Linked DNA regions of Homo sapiens: all the other regions are linked to region 3. The links are contacts of gene promoters, found by promoter capture Hi-C in blood cells and fetal thymus (Javierre and others, 2016). All regions are on one chromosome and are shown on one strand. The core of a region is centred on a gene start or on the middle of the fragment in contact, and the rest is flanking DNA. Distances in the headings are between cores, read along the strand shown. Region 1 holds the start of MKNK1 (MAPK interacting serine/threonine kinase 1). Region 2 overlaps LOC105378697 (a long non-coding RNA gene). Region 3 holds the start of LINC00853 (long intergenic non-protein coding RNA 853). Region 4 overlaps LINC01738 (long intergenic non-protein coding RNA 1738).

Evidence for each region. Contacts are between HindIII fragments. The CHiCAGO score rates a contact against its expected background, and 5 or more counts as called.
Region 1: a contact is called between a fragment that was not itself captured here and the fragment with the promoter of LINC00853 in region 3, in 1 of 17 cell types (erythroblasts). The highest score is 5.3, in erythroblasts.
Region 2: a fragment that was not itself captured here is called in contact with the fragment with the promoter of LINC00853 in region 3 in 2 of 17 cell types (megakaryocytes and erythroblasts); the score reaches 7.2 in megakaryocytes.
Region 4: a contact is called between a fragment that was not itself captured here and the fragment with the promoter of LINC00853 in region 3, in 6 of 17 cell types (naive CD8 T cells, total B cells, total CD4 T cells and 3 more). The highest score is 8.4, in naive CD8 T cells.

What each region holds. Positions count from the first base shown.
Region 1 is chr1:46,602,068-46,605,210 of GRCh38, forward strand. It overlaps MKNK1 (MAPK interacting serine/threonine kinase 1), which reads right to left and starts at 2,201. Exons shown (of 13, transcript NM_001135553.4): 1 at 2,118-2,201. RefSeq lists enhancers at 1,515-2,015, 1,783-1,832 and a silencer at 2,163-2,382. The HindIII fragment of the contact is 3,112 bases long and covers 1-3,035 here.
Region 2 is chr1:46,620,162-46,623,347 of GRCh38, forward strand. LOC105378697 (a long non-coding RNA gene) reads right to left here. Exons shown (of 3, transcript XR_947297.2): 2 at 1,675-1,813; 3 at 1,534-1,567. Among named protein-coding and RNA genes, the nearest start is that of MOB3C, 4.9 kb to the left of the region's middle. The HindIII fragment of the contact is 4,348 bases long and covers 1-3,186 here.
Region 3 is chr1:47,177,109-47,180,504 of GRCh38, forward strand. It overlaps LINC00853 (long intergenic non-protein coding RNA 853), which reads left to right and starts at 2,142. Exons shown (of 2, transcript NR_047498.1): 1 at 2,142-2,330; 2 at 2,760-3,231. CYP4A22-AS1 (CYP4A22 antisense RNA 1) reads right to left here and starts at 2,515. Exons shown (of 6, transcript NR_199717.1): 1 at 2,082-2,515; 2 at 1,017-1,341. RefSeq lists an enhancer at 2,013-2,514. The HindIII fragment of the contact is 3,617 bases long and covers 1-2,888 here.
Region 4 is chr1:47,698,854-47,702,043 of GRCh38, forward strand. The region is part of intron 2 of LINC01738 (long intergenic non-protein coding RNA 1738); the gene reads left to right. Among named protein-coding and RNA genes, the nearest start is that of LINC01738, 12 kb to the left of the region's middle. The HindIII fragment of the contact is 1,743 bases long and covers 458-2,200 here.

The DNA of each region.
Region 1 (3,143 bases), core at 230-2,729, 580 kb before region 3:
GAGAGAATATAAGCAAAGGCTCGAGCAGGAACATGCAGGGAGTGTTTGAGAAACAGAGATTTGGCCGGGCACGTTGGCTCACATCTGTAGTACCAGCACTTTGGGAGGCCCAGGCAGGCGGATCACCTGAGGTCAGAAGTTTGAATCCAGCCTGGCCAACATGGCGAAACCCCGTCTCTACTAAAAATACAAAAATTAGCCGGGTGTGGTGGCTCATGCCTGTAATTCCAGCTACTCAGGAGGCTGAGGCAGGAGAATCACTTGAACCTGGGAAGTGGAGGTTGCAGTGAGCCGAGATTGTGCCACTGCACTCCAGCCTGGGTGACAAAGTGAGACTCCATCTCAAAAAAAAAGGAGAAACAGAGACAACTAGTTTATTTTGACTGAAGCACAGGTTGCAGGTTTGGGAAAACCAAGGGAAACAGGGAGGGGAGAGGTGTGGGAACAAATTGTGCAGGAACTTGTCTGAGGCTGGAGTCCAAACTCTACATCCAGCTTGTCCAACCCGCGGCCCTGGATGGCTCTGAATGTGGTCCAACACAAATTCATAAACGTTCTTAAAACACTGAGATTTTTTTGCAATTTTTTTAAAGCTCATCAGCTATTGTTAATGTTAGTGTATTTTATGTGTGGCCCAAGATGGTTCTTCTTCTTCCAATGTGGCCCAGGGAAGCCAAAAGATTGGACACCACTGCTCTATATAGTAGGCAATGATGCCCACCAAGGTTTCCGAGTAGTGTCTCAGGAAGAGCACAAGGGCACCCATGAAGAGGATGCAAAAGGAACTAAGTAATTCAATTACTCTGGGACCACATTACAGGAGACCACATGCACTTTCTAAGCACGTGCTGGGCTCTGACAGCTCCTGTTCACAGAGCTTCCCTCTCCCATGGCTTCGCTTCATGCAATCTGAGTTGCCATCCCCCACAACTGTCAACATCTGCAAAATACCAGAGTAACAGGACTCCTAACCAACTCTCTGGATTACAGAGAGAGAAGTGTTGAGGTGGGAGCAGATGGGCAGAGGGGGCACCAAAGCCTCTAGCTGGCTCAGTTCCATATAAAACCCAACCCTGGATTTCCTCTTCACATCACTTCCAGCCCAGCCCTCTAATGAAGGGCTGAAGCTAAGGAGAGTGGGCTGAAAGCACCTGGCTGATGGGTGGTGATCCAGTGAGACATTACACCTACTGTCCAGCATGTGCCTGGCGCATGGGCAGTGGTGCCCTTCCCATTCTGCAGGGTCAGTTCCATCTGTAAATCCCACTGAGGCTTCAAGGCCCAGGTCACAACAACTCTTCTCTCAGAGCCTTTCTAAAGTACCCCAATCCAAAATGACCAAGCTCCTAGAAATCACAGCTACCATGTATTCAGCACCCATTACATGACAGGCGCCATACTAGGTGACTTCCATATAATCCTATTCACCCTTCACAATGACCCTATTATGGCCATTTCCTAGGGAAGAAAGTGAAGCTCTGGGAGGGGAAGCAGACTTGCCCCAGGACACACAGCTAAGAGGTGGAAGAGATGAGATCTAAACCCAGGACTCCCTGACCCTGAAGTTGAGCACTTCTAACAACACTTCATTCCTGTGAGCCTGCCTGCCTCTGATCTGCCACTGTCAGGGAGCTTGGAGCTCTCTAGAAGACAGGGTGCACCTGACACTCTTATTACCTTTCCCTGTGGACAGCCATCCACACAGGCAGGAGCCTTTAAATACTGAAAATAAATGAAAACAATTAACTTAAAAATAACGCAGTACACAGATTTCACAAATTCCTCACGTGAAAAACTATTCATGATACTGGACTGCCTGAGCCCTGCGCCCAGCCATAGCCTCGGTCCTGATCCCTGGGAGAGACTGAGTCTCAAACGGGCCACAGAGTAAGCGCCATCTCGGACACCGGCCACGCCCCGACCCCAGGCACAGAGGTCGCAGACAGCTCGGGACAGTCCTGAAAAGCGTCCCCTTAGGCTGTCCCTCCGCAGCTGAATCGCGTCGTGACCTCGGGCAGCCGTGAAGGCCCTGACTGCCCCCTTCCGGGCACACGAGCTCACTCACAGACCCCGGCCCCATTTAGCTCGGAGGAATACCTCGCAGGTCTCGCTTTTACCTTCGCTGGCTCCCGCCGGGGAGCGGTCGCGCGCACCCCTACCTGCAGATCGCTCCTCCGAGAACGCGGAAGAGGCGGTGCTAGATCCAGGGGGTGGGCCCGATCAGAGAGGAGGGTGAGGGGGCGGAGCTGCGCCTGCGCCCTGATGGCTACCCAGGGCCGCCTGAGGGCAGGGGGCTCGAGCTGAGCGAACTGCGCAGGCGTGACAGGGAAGAGGCGGGGAGAGGGGAGATTGCTGGCAAGCGGGTGGGGCTTAGCTCCTCCGGCGCTTTCTTTTCCGAATGGAGGGTGGAGAAGCCCGGGAAGGTAGGAGGCCGGGCGCGACAGGTGTAATTAACATGTACTGAGAGCTTCTGCAGGCCAGGAAGGAATTTTAAAATGCCTTTTATATGTGGGGAAATGCTGCTAGTCTTTTCTAAAACGGGGGCCAATTCTGTACAATTTCTTTAAAAGTCTGAGTGCCTAGAATTTCACCATAAGAGTTTCTCCTTGAGTACAACATTATCCCCAGTATTTCAAAATTTTTAAAACTTTTAAAAGTTCATTTCTTGGGGAAAAACAACTGTAAATAGGTTAATGCCTCAACCAGTCTCCCCACATCCCCTTCCCAAGTCTGCAGCTGCGATGAGAAAGGATGAGAGTGTGGACTGGGATTTAATTCAGGCGCTGACTCCGAGTGATGGAGGTGAACATCCCTTCCCTGCCTGTCTCAGGATTATCGTGAGGATTTGGTAAGCCAAGCTAGTTAAAGAGCCCCAGGGACTTGCTTCCCATCATCCACCTGACAAACATTTGTTCCCTGTCTTGTCGGGGCTGTCTTTTCATCTGTATGATGGAAGGAGATTGGGAATATTAGTGAACATTCAGGACTTTGCTAGATTTCCCAATCTGGGTGAAGGCCGGAGAGGCGGAAGATCAAGCTTCTGTGTTCATTCCCTTCTGGAATCCTGCGGTCCAACCTGAGGGCCCCGATGTATCCTGACTTCTCCCACTCATTACCTTCCGTGGAGGCCGATCCAAGCTTCA
Region 2 (3,186 bases), core at 527-3,026, 560 kb before region 3:
TGGCAGCTACTATAGCCTGATAGGGCCCACCCTCTACTCACTCTCTCCCAAGAAAGAGTTTCCATTTCAGCTTCTGCCCCTCCCTGCCCAGGAGGCAGGATCATCCGTCCTGGATTTTCCATCCTGGCCCATTGAGGAGAATGCCATGGGCACCCTTACGGCAGTCAGAGGAATTGAGGTTAAACTTCCTTTCACTTGAAGAAGACAAGGTTCAAGGGAAGATGGCAGGGGAAGACAAGGTTGACAAGGACATGCACTAAAATTCTGTGTGACCATGGACAAGGCACTTGTTCTCTGAGCCTATTTCACCTTCTCTAAAGTAAAGACAACAACAACAACATCTGCCCCACAGAAGAGCTGAGAGAATCAAATGTGATAGCACTTGTAAACAGTAGAAGGCTGTGGTCAGTCTGTTTCAGGGGTACTGCCTTCAAACACCCAGCAGGTGTTTGTGTGGAAGAGGGACTGAGCTTGTTCCAGGGTCCTGGAGAGCAGTGGGCAGACACCCAGGACAATATGAAGGGGCGCTTGGCACATCAGAGCTGTCCAACCATGCAGCCGGGATGGCTGTGCTGTTCTCTCAAGAGGGAGTGGTGCAAGCAGAAGTTACCAGTCCCGGGTGACATGGACTTCAGAGGGTTTCAGTCCCTCCAGAGACGGGGAGGGCCGTCTTGCCTCTAAGAACCTCAGGCTCCAGTGTTCTCTGCTCCAAGCTCCTCCTCCTTCCCAGCCATCTCCCCTTAAGGTAGAGGCATTCCTCTCATCTCTTCCATCTTGGGAAGGAGACCTCTGGAGGCTGGGTGGAAGCCTAGTGTGTATAAGTGCCTGAAGACAATTTCACAGCCCTCAGACCTCACCCTCAACATGGCCCCAGTAGGCATTGTCCCCTCCAACCACTTGGGTTAGTTCCCAGCCTGGGGTGCCCCACGAGTGGAGGTGATAGTTGTGGGGGAGGGGTGGTTTCACCAGTGTTCCAGGCTCAGCTTTCCATGGAACCCACTATGAAGGCTGCCCAGGAAATTCTGTCCAACCTAGCCCCTTCTCTGCTGCTGGGGTGCCTCCATGTCAGCCTCTGGGGCTGCCGCCTGGAGCAACCCCCACTTAGTTCAAAGCTCTTCTATAGAAAGCCCTCAGATTGCCCCAGTCTGGATGCACCCTCCTCCTTCCTCCACAGCACAGCATCCTTTCTCCAAGTGTGTTCAGTAACACCTGCCTCCCTGCCTCAGAGTTGCCAGCAGGGATGGGGGTTTCTTATGGTCCCCAGAGAGCTGGGTGTTATCTTTTAGCAATAATGGTAGTAAATTATGGCTGGGCGCAGTGACTCATGCCTGTAATCCCAGCACTTTGGGAGGCCAAGGCGGGCGAATCATAAGAGGTCAGGAGTTTGAGACCAGCTTGGCCAACATGGCAAAACCCTGCCTCTACTAAAAACACAAAAATTAGCCGGGCATGGTGGCTTGCACCTGTAATACCAGCTACTCAGGAGGCTGAAGCAGGAGAATCGCTTGAACCCAGGAGGCAGATGTTGCAGTGAGCCGAGATCCAGCTTGAGTGATACAGCGAGACTCTGTCTCAAAAAGAAAAAAAATAAAATAATGGTAGTAAATTATGATTTCAACTATTATGGTGGTGTGAAAACACATCAATTTCTTCTATTTGTTCATTCATTCTTACATTCCACAAGTATTTACTGAGGGCCCGTTAGATGTCAGGCACTGTGTTGGCCAGTTGCAGACCTTCCCCTTGCTTTGTGGGTGGTGACAAAGGCCTCGGTCTTCTAAGGAACTTCCACTGGGCCCACGAGTCCCACTGGCTACAAAGGAATATTATTGAACAACAGGTCAGGGAGGAGTGGCTTGTAAAAGGGAAAGGTTCTTGGATATCATTTAGTCTAATCTCCTCGAAGTATGTGGAAAACTGAGACATAGGGAGAGGAAGAGATCAGCCCAATGATGAATCATGACAATAAAAACCATTCAGTGAACCTTACGTATGCCTCTCCCTGAGAGGCATATTCTCATTTCTTCTTCTCAGCAACCCTGGGAGAGAGGGAGGTTTATCTTTCTAGAGCTTTTAAGTTGTTCTTCCCTTCAGAGAGGGACGGAGGGGCTGGAAAGAAAGTTCCACTAAGTAGAGAGAAGGGATTGGCCGTGTTTAGATGACGTTCCAAACTCTACACTGCAGCTCTCTTTGGGTCCCATCTTGGCTTCATGTCCAGGAGATGGGAGAGCTGTGTCTGCTGCAGCGGGAAGCAGCAATTCAGTGGGTGGAGTCCACTTCTTATTGGAGACTCATGCTGCACCCCGTAGAGTCTGGATTCCACACAAGTACAGCTTGTGACTTCCTGCAGAATGTCATCAAATTGCATTTGGGGCCTTTTCAAGAAGTAGCTGTAGGAGCTCCGCTTTGCCTAAGGCTAAGCAGACTAAGGGTATGCTCTTGGCTTTCCCAGGAAGTTTTCCTAAATTACACCAGCTGCCTGGAACCAACCCTCCTCAGGGGGGAGCCCTTGACACAAAAAGTTCTCAGTGGTTTGCAGATGCACTCCTTGGTTAAGCCCATGGAGGTTGTGTCTTCCCTTTTGGACTATAAGCCCTTAGAATTGGGTTTTTATTTATTTTGCCTCCTCCCATGTTACCTTGTAGCAGCAACTGACAGTTGTAAGGAATGTTCTGGTTTACAAAGTGCTTTTACTACTCTTTTTTTTTTTGAGATGGAGTCTCGCTCTGTCACCTAGGCTGGAGTACAATGGCGTGATCTCGGCTTACTGCAACCTCCGCCTCCCAGGTTCAAGTGATTCTCCTTCCTCAGCCTCCTGAGTAGCTGGGATTACAGGCACACACCATCACGCCCAGCTAATTTTTGTAGAGACAGGGTTTCGCCATTGTTGGCCAGGCTGGTCTTGAACTCCTGACCTCAGGTGATCTTTCCGCCTCAGCCTCCCAAAGTGCTGGGATTACATGCGTGAGCCACCGTGCCCGGCCTACTCTGGTCATTTTTGAGCCCTGTAACAACCTTGGAATGTGAGTATTGGCTCCAAAAGGTGAAATGACTTGGCCAAGAAGCACAGCTTGAAATGGCAGAGCAGGGCCGGGTGGGGTGGCTCATGCCTGTAATCCTAGCACTTTGGGAGGCTGAGGTGGCAGATTGCTTGAGCTCAGGAGTTAGAGACCAGCCTGGGCAACA
Region 3 (3,396 bases), core at 892-3,391:
CTGGGTGTGTACCCAAAGGAATAAATCATTATATTATAAAGATACATGTGGCTGGGTGTGGTTGCTCATGCCTGTAATCCCAGCACTTTGGGAAGCTCAGGAGGGTGGATCATCTGAGGATAGGAGTTCGAGACCAGCCTGAACAACATGGTAAAACCCCGTCTCTACTAAAAATACAAAAAAACAAAAAAATTAGCCGGGTGTGGTGGCAGGCACCTGTAGTCCCAGCTACTCGGGAGGCTGAGGCACGAGAATTGCTTGAACCCGGGAGGAGGAGGTTGCAGTGAGCAGAGATTGCACCATTGCACTCCAGCCTGGGTGAGGGAGTAAGACTCCATCTCAAAAAAAATAAAAAAATAATGATACATGCAAGCATATGTTCATTGCAGCACTATTCACAGTAGCAAAGACATGGAATCAACCCAAATGCCCATAAATGATAGACTAGATAAGGAAAATATGGTACATATATACCATGGAATACTATGCAGACATAAAAAGGAATGAGATCATGTACTTTGCAGGGACATGGATGGAGCTGGAGGCCATTATCCTCAGCAAAGTAACACAGGAACAGAAAACCAAACACTGCATACTCTCACTTAAAAGTGGGATCTTTTAAGTGAACAAAAAAGAGGGGAACAACATACAGTGGGGCCTGTTGGGGCAGGGGTGGGGAGAGCATCAGGATAAATAGCTAATGCATGCTGGGCTTAATATCTAGGTGATGGGTTGACAGTTGCAGCAAACCACCATGTTTTTACCTATGTAACAAACCTGTACATCCTGCACATGTAGCCTGGAACTTAAAATAAAATTAAATTAAAATTAAAAAGAAAACAGCACCACCACCATCAAGGAAAGCCTGTTCCCAACCTCCAATTCCAGCTCACTAGCTCAGCCTGTCTCATTCCCCTTTTTCTCTCTCCCCTCTCCTCCCTGCCCCTTTCCTCACTTTGCCCCCACCTGTCCTCACCATCCCACCCCATACCTCCAAGCTCACAGCTAGAACTGACCAAAGGCCCAGTTATTTATTTACAAAGTCCATGTCCAGAACTGTACCAGCCTCAGCGGTGTGGAATAAACTGGTGTGGCCAGGTCCATTGTGCTGATGCCTCAAGAGATCCAGGCTGGTACAGATGGGTCTGGCACATTCTGTACCTGCCAGCCAAGCAGAGCATCCAGCTTACTTCTCACTCGACTCCTTACATAACGCTCGTCGGGTACTCTCCATTCCTTGGGCTTAAATTCCATAGTGTAATATTAGTAAACCAGGCTAAATGATCCTAAGGATCTTGCTAGCTCTGACGCACCGTGATCTTGCATCCAATTCAGTTCACTCTGTAATAAATAATCATAATAACAATAGTAATTTTCCAAATAGCTAACAGTTATTGTGTACTGTATGCTAAGCACTATTCTATGTATTTCATGTGAATGTTTAACATTCATAACACCACTTATCATGTAGACATCATTTACTGCCCTAATTTACAGTGAACTGGAGCTCCGAGAGTCACGTTGATTTAACCACAGTCCCAGGCTACCAAGTGTCCAAGCTGTGCTGCTTCCAAGCTGCCTGACCCAGACCTGAGCTCTTAACCTCTCAATGGGCATCCAGGTCGAAAGCAGAATCTCTGGCTCAAGTGCCGACTGCCCAGCTGTTTCAGAACTCCACCATGCACCCAACTGCTCCTCCAGGACTTCCCTACGGATGTGTTGCAGGCTCTGAAACGTCACACATCCACGCCGCATCCTCATCCCACACATGCTCCTGCTTGTCCCTGGCATCTGCCATTCTCAGTGCCATTCACTAGCCTATATGATGCCTTCGAATCAGAGGAAGTTACCTCTCCCTCCAGGGATACGGGCCCACACCTGGTCTCAGGGACCCTTTAGTGGAGGCACAGTCTATATAGCCCAGAGCAGTGCCCCTGATGCCATCGTCTTCCAATTTGCTCAGAGCAGACACTGGGATTCATCCTTAATATCTCTCTCTTCTCTCTCTCTCTCTCTCTCTCTCTCTCGCGGAGGCCCCACTGCCCTTGCATTCCACAGGAAGTCCCAGTTGCTGGCATGACCTGAGAGGTTCCTGGGACCACGCCATGGAAATGCGTCCGGTCCCAGTGTGACGGGGAAGAGCCGCGCCTGAAGCTCAACTTCCGAGGCTCTCATCAATCTACGCTTCCTTTGGAGCGTGCAGCCACCAGGTGGCAGCCGAGGCCACGGGCAGACAGAAAAGCTCCCGAAACTGAAGGACTGCCAGGCAGCAGAGTTCCGGAGGGCTCCCAGGACCTTCAACCAGAAAGAGACAGAGCATATGCGCATATGTATGTCTGAGCCCGTGCACGGAGGAGGAGTATGAACAGACACCGCGGGACAGATGGCTGGAGTTTAGTCCCTTCCTTCGGGGCTCTTCACCACTCCTTGGGCTTCCCTTCTCCTGTCCAGCCCTGTCCTGGGTGCACAGAGAGGGAAGTCACTCCATTCCTGCCCTTGAGGAGCTCCCAGACCCAGGGCAGGAGCAGGATGCAGACAAGTAGACAGCACCCTGGGGTGGGTGGAGTGAGTGGGGCAGGTGGGGCGGGTGCAAAGAGAGGGAGGAGCAGGGGCTGAAGTTGCCCGGAGGAAGTGCTGAACCCAGGAGTGGGGAAAGGAGCATCTGGGAAGAAATGGCATCTACGCTGATCATGGAGGGCTTTCTGGCAAGTCTCAGGAGCAATAATAACACGGATGTCATCTCTGTTTCCTCCCAGCAGCCCTGCAAGGAATGTACTATAGAGCCAATTTTACCGGCAAAGGAATGGAAGATCTGAAAGGCTAGGCGATCCCACAAGCATCGAGGAGCAGGCTGGAATTTGAACCAATCGGCATGATTCCCAAGCTCAAGCTTTTGGCCACCCCTGCACTGCCAGGGACAAAAAAAAAAAAAAAAAAAAACCCTGGGAGGAGAGCCAAGCTAGGGAGTCAAGACCCTCCAGCCAGGTCTGGATGGGAGGCAGGTGCCTCCACCCTGGTCCCAGAGCAAGTTCTGCTGGCTTCAGCCACCTGACTTCCCTGTGAAGGTGGGTAGAGGCCAGAGCAGACTGTGTGTGATTCTGGCCCCAGCCCCAGCACCTCTACCCCCACCTTTACTACCCCTAGGCTGCGGGAAGAGGCTTTGCCCAGCAATAGTCCTGATCTAATGGATCCTTGAAGCACAATAAACAGATAGTATTTCTGCATGTGTCACTCTGAGTATGACGGCAGTAATCTTGAAACTCCCCTTGACCACCTGGCACTCTGGAGACGGAACTCCACAGCCTGTTTTCAAAGCCAACTCCTGGCTGGAAGTTCCTCTTCAAGTCTAAATGAAGTAAGCAGTGCTGCAGTCTTCCCTCAACTGTGCAGTTGCTG
Region 4 (3,190 bases), core at 79-2,578, 520 kb after region 3:
AGATGAATGTGTTTACATGTGAAAGAATAAATATTAAAATTATACCTATTGTTTTGTTATTATTTGGTGTTTACTCTCCTTCCTGGCTAGCCAGAAAGAGCTGGTGTTTTTTGAAGACCTAAGCCCGGGAGCAAATTTTTCCTGGTCAAAGAGGCCAAGAGTGGGCCCAGGATCTCTGCCAGGACCTGCCAGGGCCCAGAAGATTTGGGGAGGGGAGCTGCAGCATTAGAGGGCTGAGACCCCTTTATCCTTGATTAGGTCCAAAGCTGTTGGGTGGAACTGTGGCACCTGCAGAGTTAACCGCGTCCATGGTGTATCATTGCGCTAAGACAGGCTTAGAGAGAGCTCAAGGGGCCTACATTTAAATACACACCTTTCTGTTTCCACAGCTCATGTATTTTAGGGAGGAAAATTTAATCCATATACTTTTAGTTCATTTGCATTAAAGTCATCACAAAGCTTTGTCTGAGCCATTTTGAGCTTGTGTGGCCTGTTGGAGAACCTTCACTGTCTTTCGAAGGCCTTTTCTTCCTCTCTAGGCAAACAGGAAATCATACTCTGCCCAGGAGCAACCAACCTGAAACCTTCAGCGCTGCCTGCCTCACCTGCCTTCTCACACCTGGAAATGACAGGCCGAGATCAAGTTCCTCTGGAGCCCAGGAAACTCTCATGCCTGACAATTAAATGCCTCCATGATTTGCCCCAAGCTATCTTGATAGCAGTTGTACCCTAACCACCAGGCAGGGTGATGTTCATGGAAACCTCTGTTCCTGCCATTCCCTCTCCCCTGGCTACATTTCCTCCTGACATTTTGCCCATTCTCTGAGGCCCAGCTGCGGCTCAACCTCAGCCTTCCCTTGATCATCCTTATGCAAGCAGTTGCATAAGCAGTTGCCGGCTCAGGATTCAGTACTAAGTGTCATTGGTAAACGTTTATTGGATGGATGAATGGAATGGTGGATGACAGGGGCTGGGATAATTTATCCTATATTTTCTTCTTGCTTCTCCCTCTTCTGAAATGTGTCTGGCCCAGGTTTTGGTACACACGGAGGTTTGAGGAATGCCTAAAGAATGAATGCACGTGCAGTGAATGGATGGCTGTAGAAATCCATTTATAGAGCACATGCTATGGGCTCTGCATGGGGCCAGATGCTGGTATCACAGCTGTGAAGAAGACATGCTTCCTGCCCTCATCTTTCACATTGTAGCTGAGAAGTCAGGCAGACACTGGGAGTTGCACAATCTATGATGTATTTAGTTACTCTTGTGATAAGTTTGAGGAGGGAGGAAAATGAATATGTGTATGAGTGAAGAAAGGAGTAAACAAATAGAATGAGGGAGGAAATGAATATGTACATGAATAAAAGAATACTGGGGAGAATAATTAATGGAATGATGGATGAAGATGAATTCATTGTGAAGGAAAAGACCCCAAGCCGTGTGACACAGTATTTGTGGACACAAGGCCTAGAGGCCACTAGGCCACTGTGGCCTGAAGTCAGCCCCTCTTTTGTTTCCCAGGGTGCAGGAGCAGCAGGTGGGTGGGGAGAGGTAAGGCCCTCTGCATCCTGAGGTTGGCAGCACTGCTACCATCTTAGCATCTCCCAAACTTTAGTCTCAGAAAGGGTGGGTGTTTGTGACTTTAACCTGGAGAATCTCAGGGCCTGCAGGGCTGGATTTTTCTTTTTTTTTGAGACAGTCTCACTCTGTTGCCCAGGCTGGAGTGCAGTGGTGTGATCTCGGCTCACTGCAACCTCCGCCTCCTGGGTTCAAGCAATTCTCCTGCCTTAGCCTCCTGAGTGGCTGGGACTACAGACGCACACCACCATGCCTGGCTGCTTTTTTTTTTTTTTTTTTTTTTTGAGATGGAGTCTCGCTCTGTCACCAGGCTGGAGTGCAGTGGTGCAATTTCGGCTCACTGCAACCTCGGCTCACTGCAACCTCCATCTCCTGGGTTCAAGCGATTCTATTGCCTCAGCCTCTTAAATAGCTGGGATTACAGGCATGCGCCACCACGCCCTGCTAATTTTTGTATTTTTAGTAGAGATGGGGTTTCACCATGTTGGCCAGGCTGATCTTGAACTCCTGACCTCAGGTGATCCACCCATCTCGGCCTCCCAAAGTGCTGGGATTACAGGAGTGAGCCACCCCACCTGGCCACAGGGTCTGAGTTTTGCTCAGCACATGGCATAATCCTCAAAGCTTTCACAATCATATCCACACCACACGTATCCTCCACTGGGAGAAATCAGCTGGAGAGGGAAGGGCCTGCCCAAGGCCCCAACACCAGAGTCCTGACCTCCAGGAGCCTGAGACAGACAAGGCCCATTTTGACTTAGCTCCTTTCGTCCCCCTCTGAGTTCTCCTAATCCTCTCCCTTTGTGCCCCCTCCAGCCCCACAGGCCCTACCCTCTCCTGGCACATGCTGGGCACGCTCCTGCCTTGGAGCCTTGGTGCTCCTAATTCCCTTTGCCTGGGATGCTCCCTCTAGATGTCTGCAGGGCTCACTCTTGCTTCCTTCCAGTCTTCTCTCAGAAGTTACCCTATTAGCGAGGCCTTCTGTGGCTACTGTATCCATAATTTTGTCACTGACCCCTTCCTTTGATATCCCATTCCCTTGCTTTGATGTTTCTTTATAGCACTTATCCTTATCTAACACTGTATGTTTTTCTTATTAGTTTATGATCTGTTTCTCCCATGATCTGTTTCTCCCACTAGGATGTAAACTCCAGGAGGGCAGAGATTTCATATTGCTTTGTTCACTACTGTATCCCAGCAGCTGGAATCCAGCCTGACACACAGTAGTTGCCCACCCCATATGCACTGAATGGATGAATGAAGCAAACTCTCAAACCCGGCCTCTCCTCTCCATCTAAAAGTCACTCTCATTGTCTTTCCTTGCTGGGACCCTGCAACAGCCTCTTACCTGATTCTCAGCCTCCTCTCGGACCCCTCAGCTTCCTCCCTGACGATCAGCCTCCTCCCTGACCCCTCAGCTTCCTCCCTGACGCTCAGCTTCCTCCCTGACCCTTCAGCTTCCTCCCTGACACTCAGCCTACTCCCTGATCCCCAGCCTCTTCCTTAACCCTCAGTTCCCTGCCTGACCCCAACCTCCTCCCTGACCCCCAGCCTCCTCCCTGACACTTGGCCTCCTCCCCTACTCCACAATCTCTTCTTTGGCTCAGAGCAA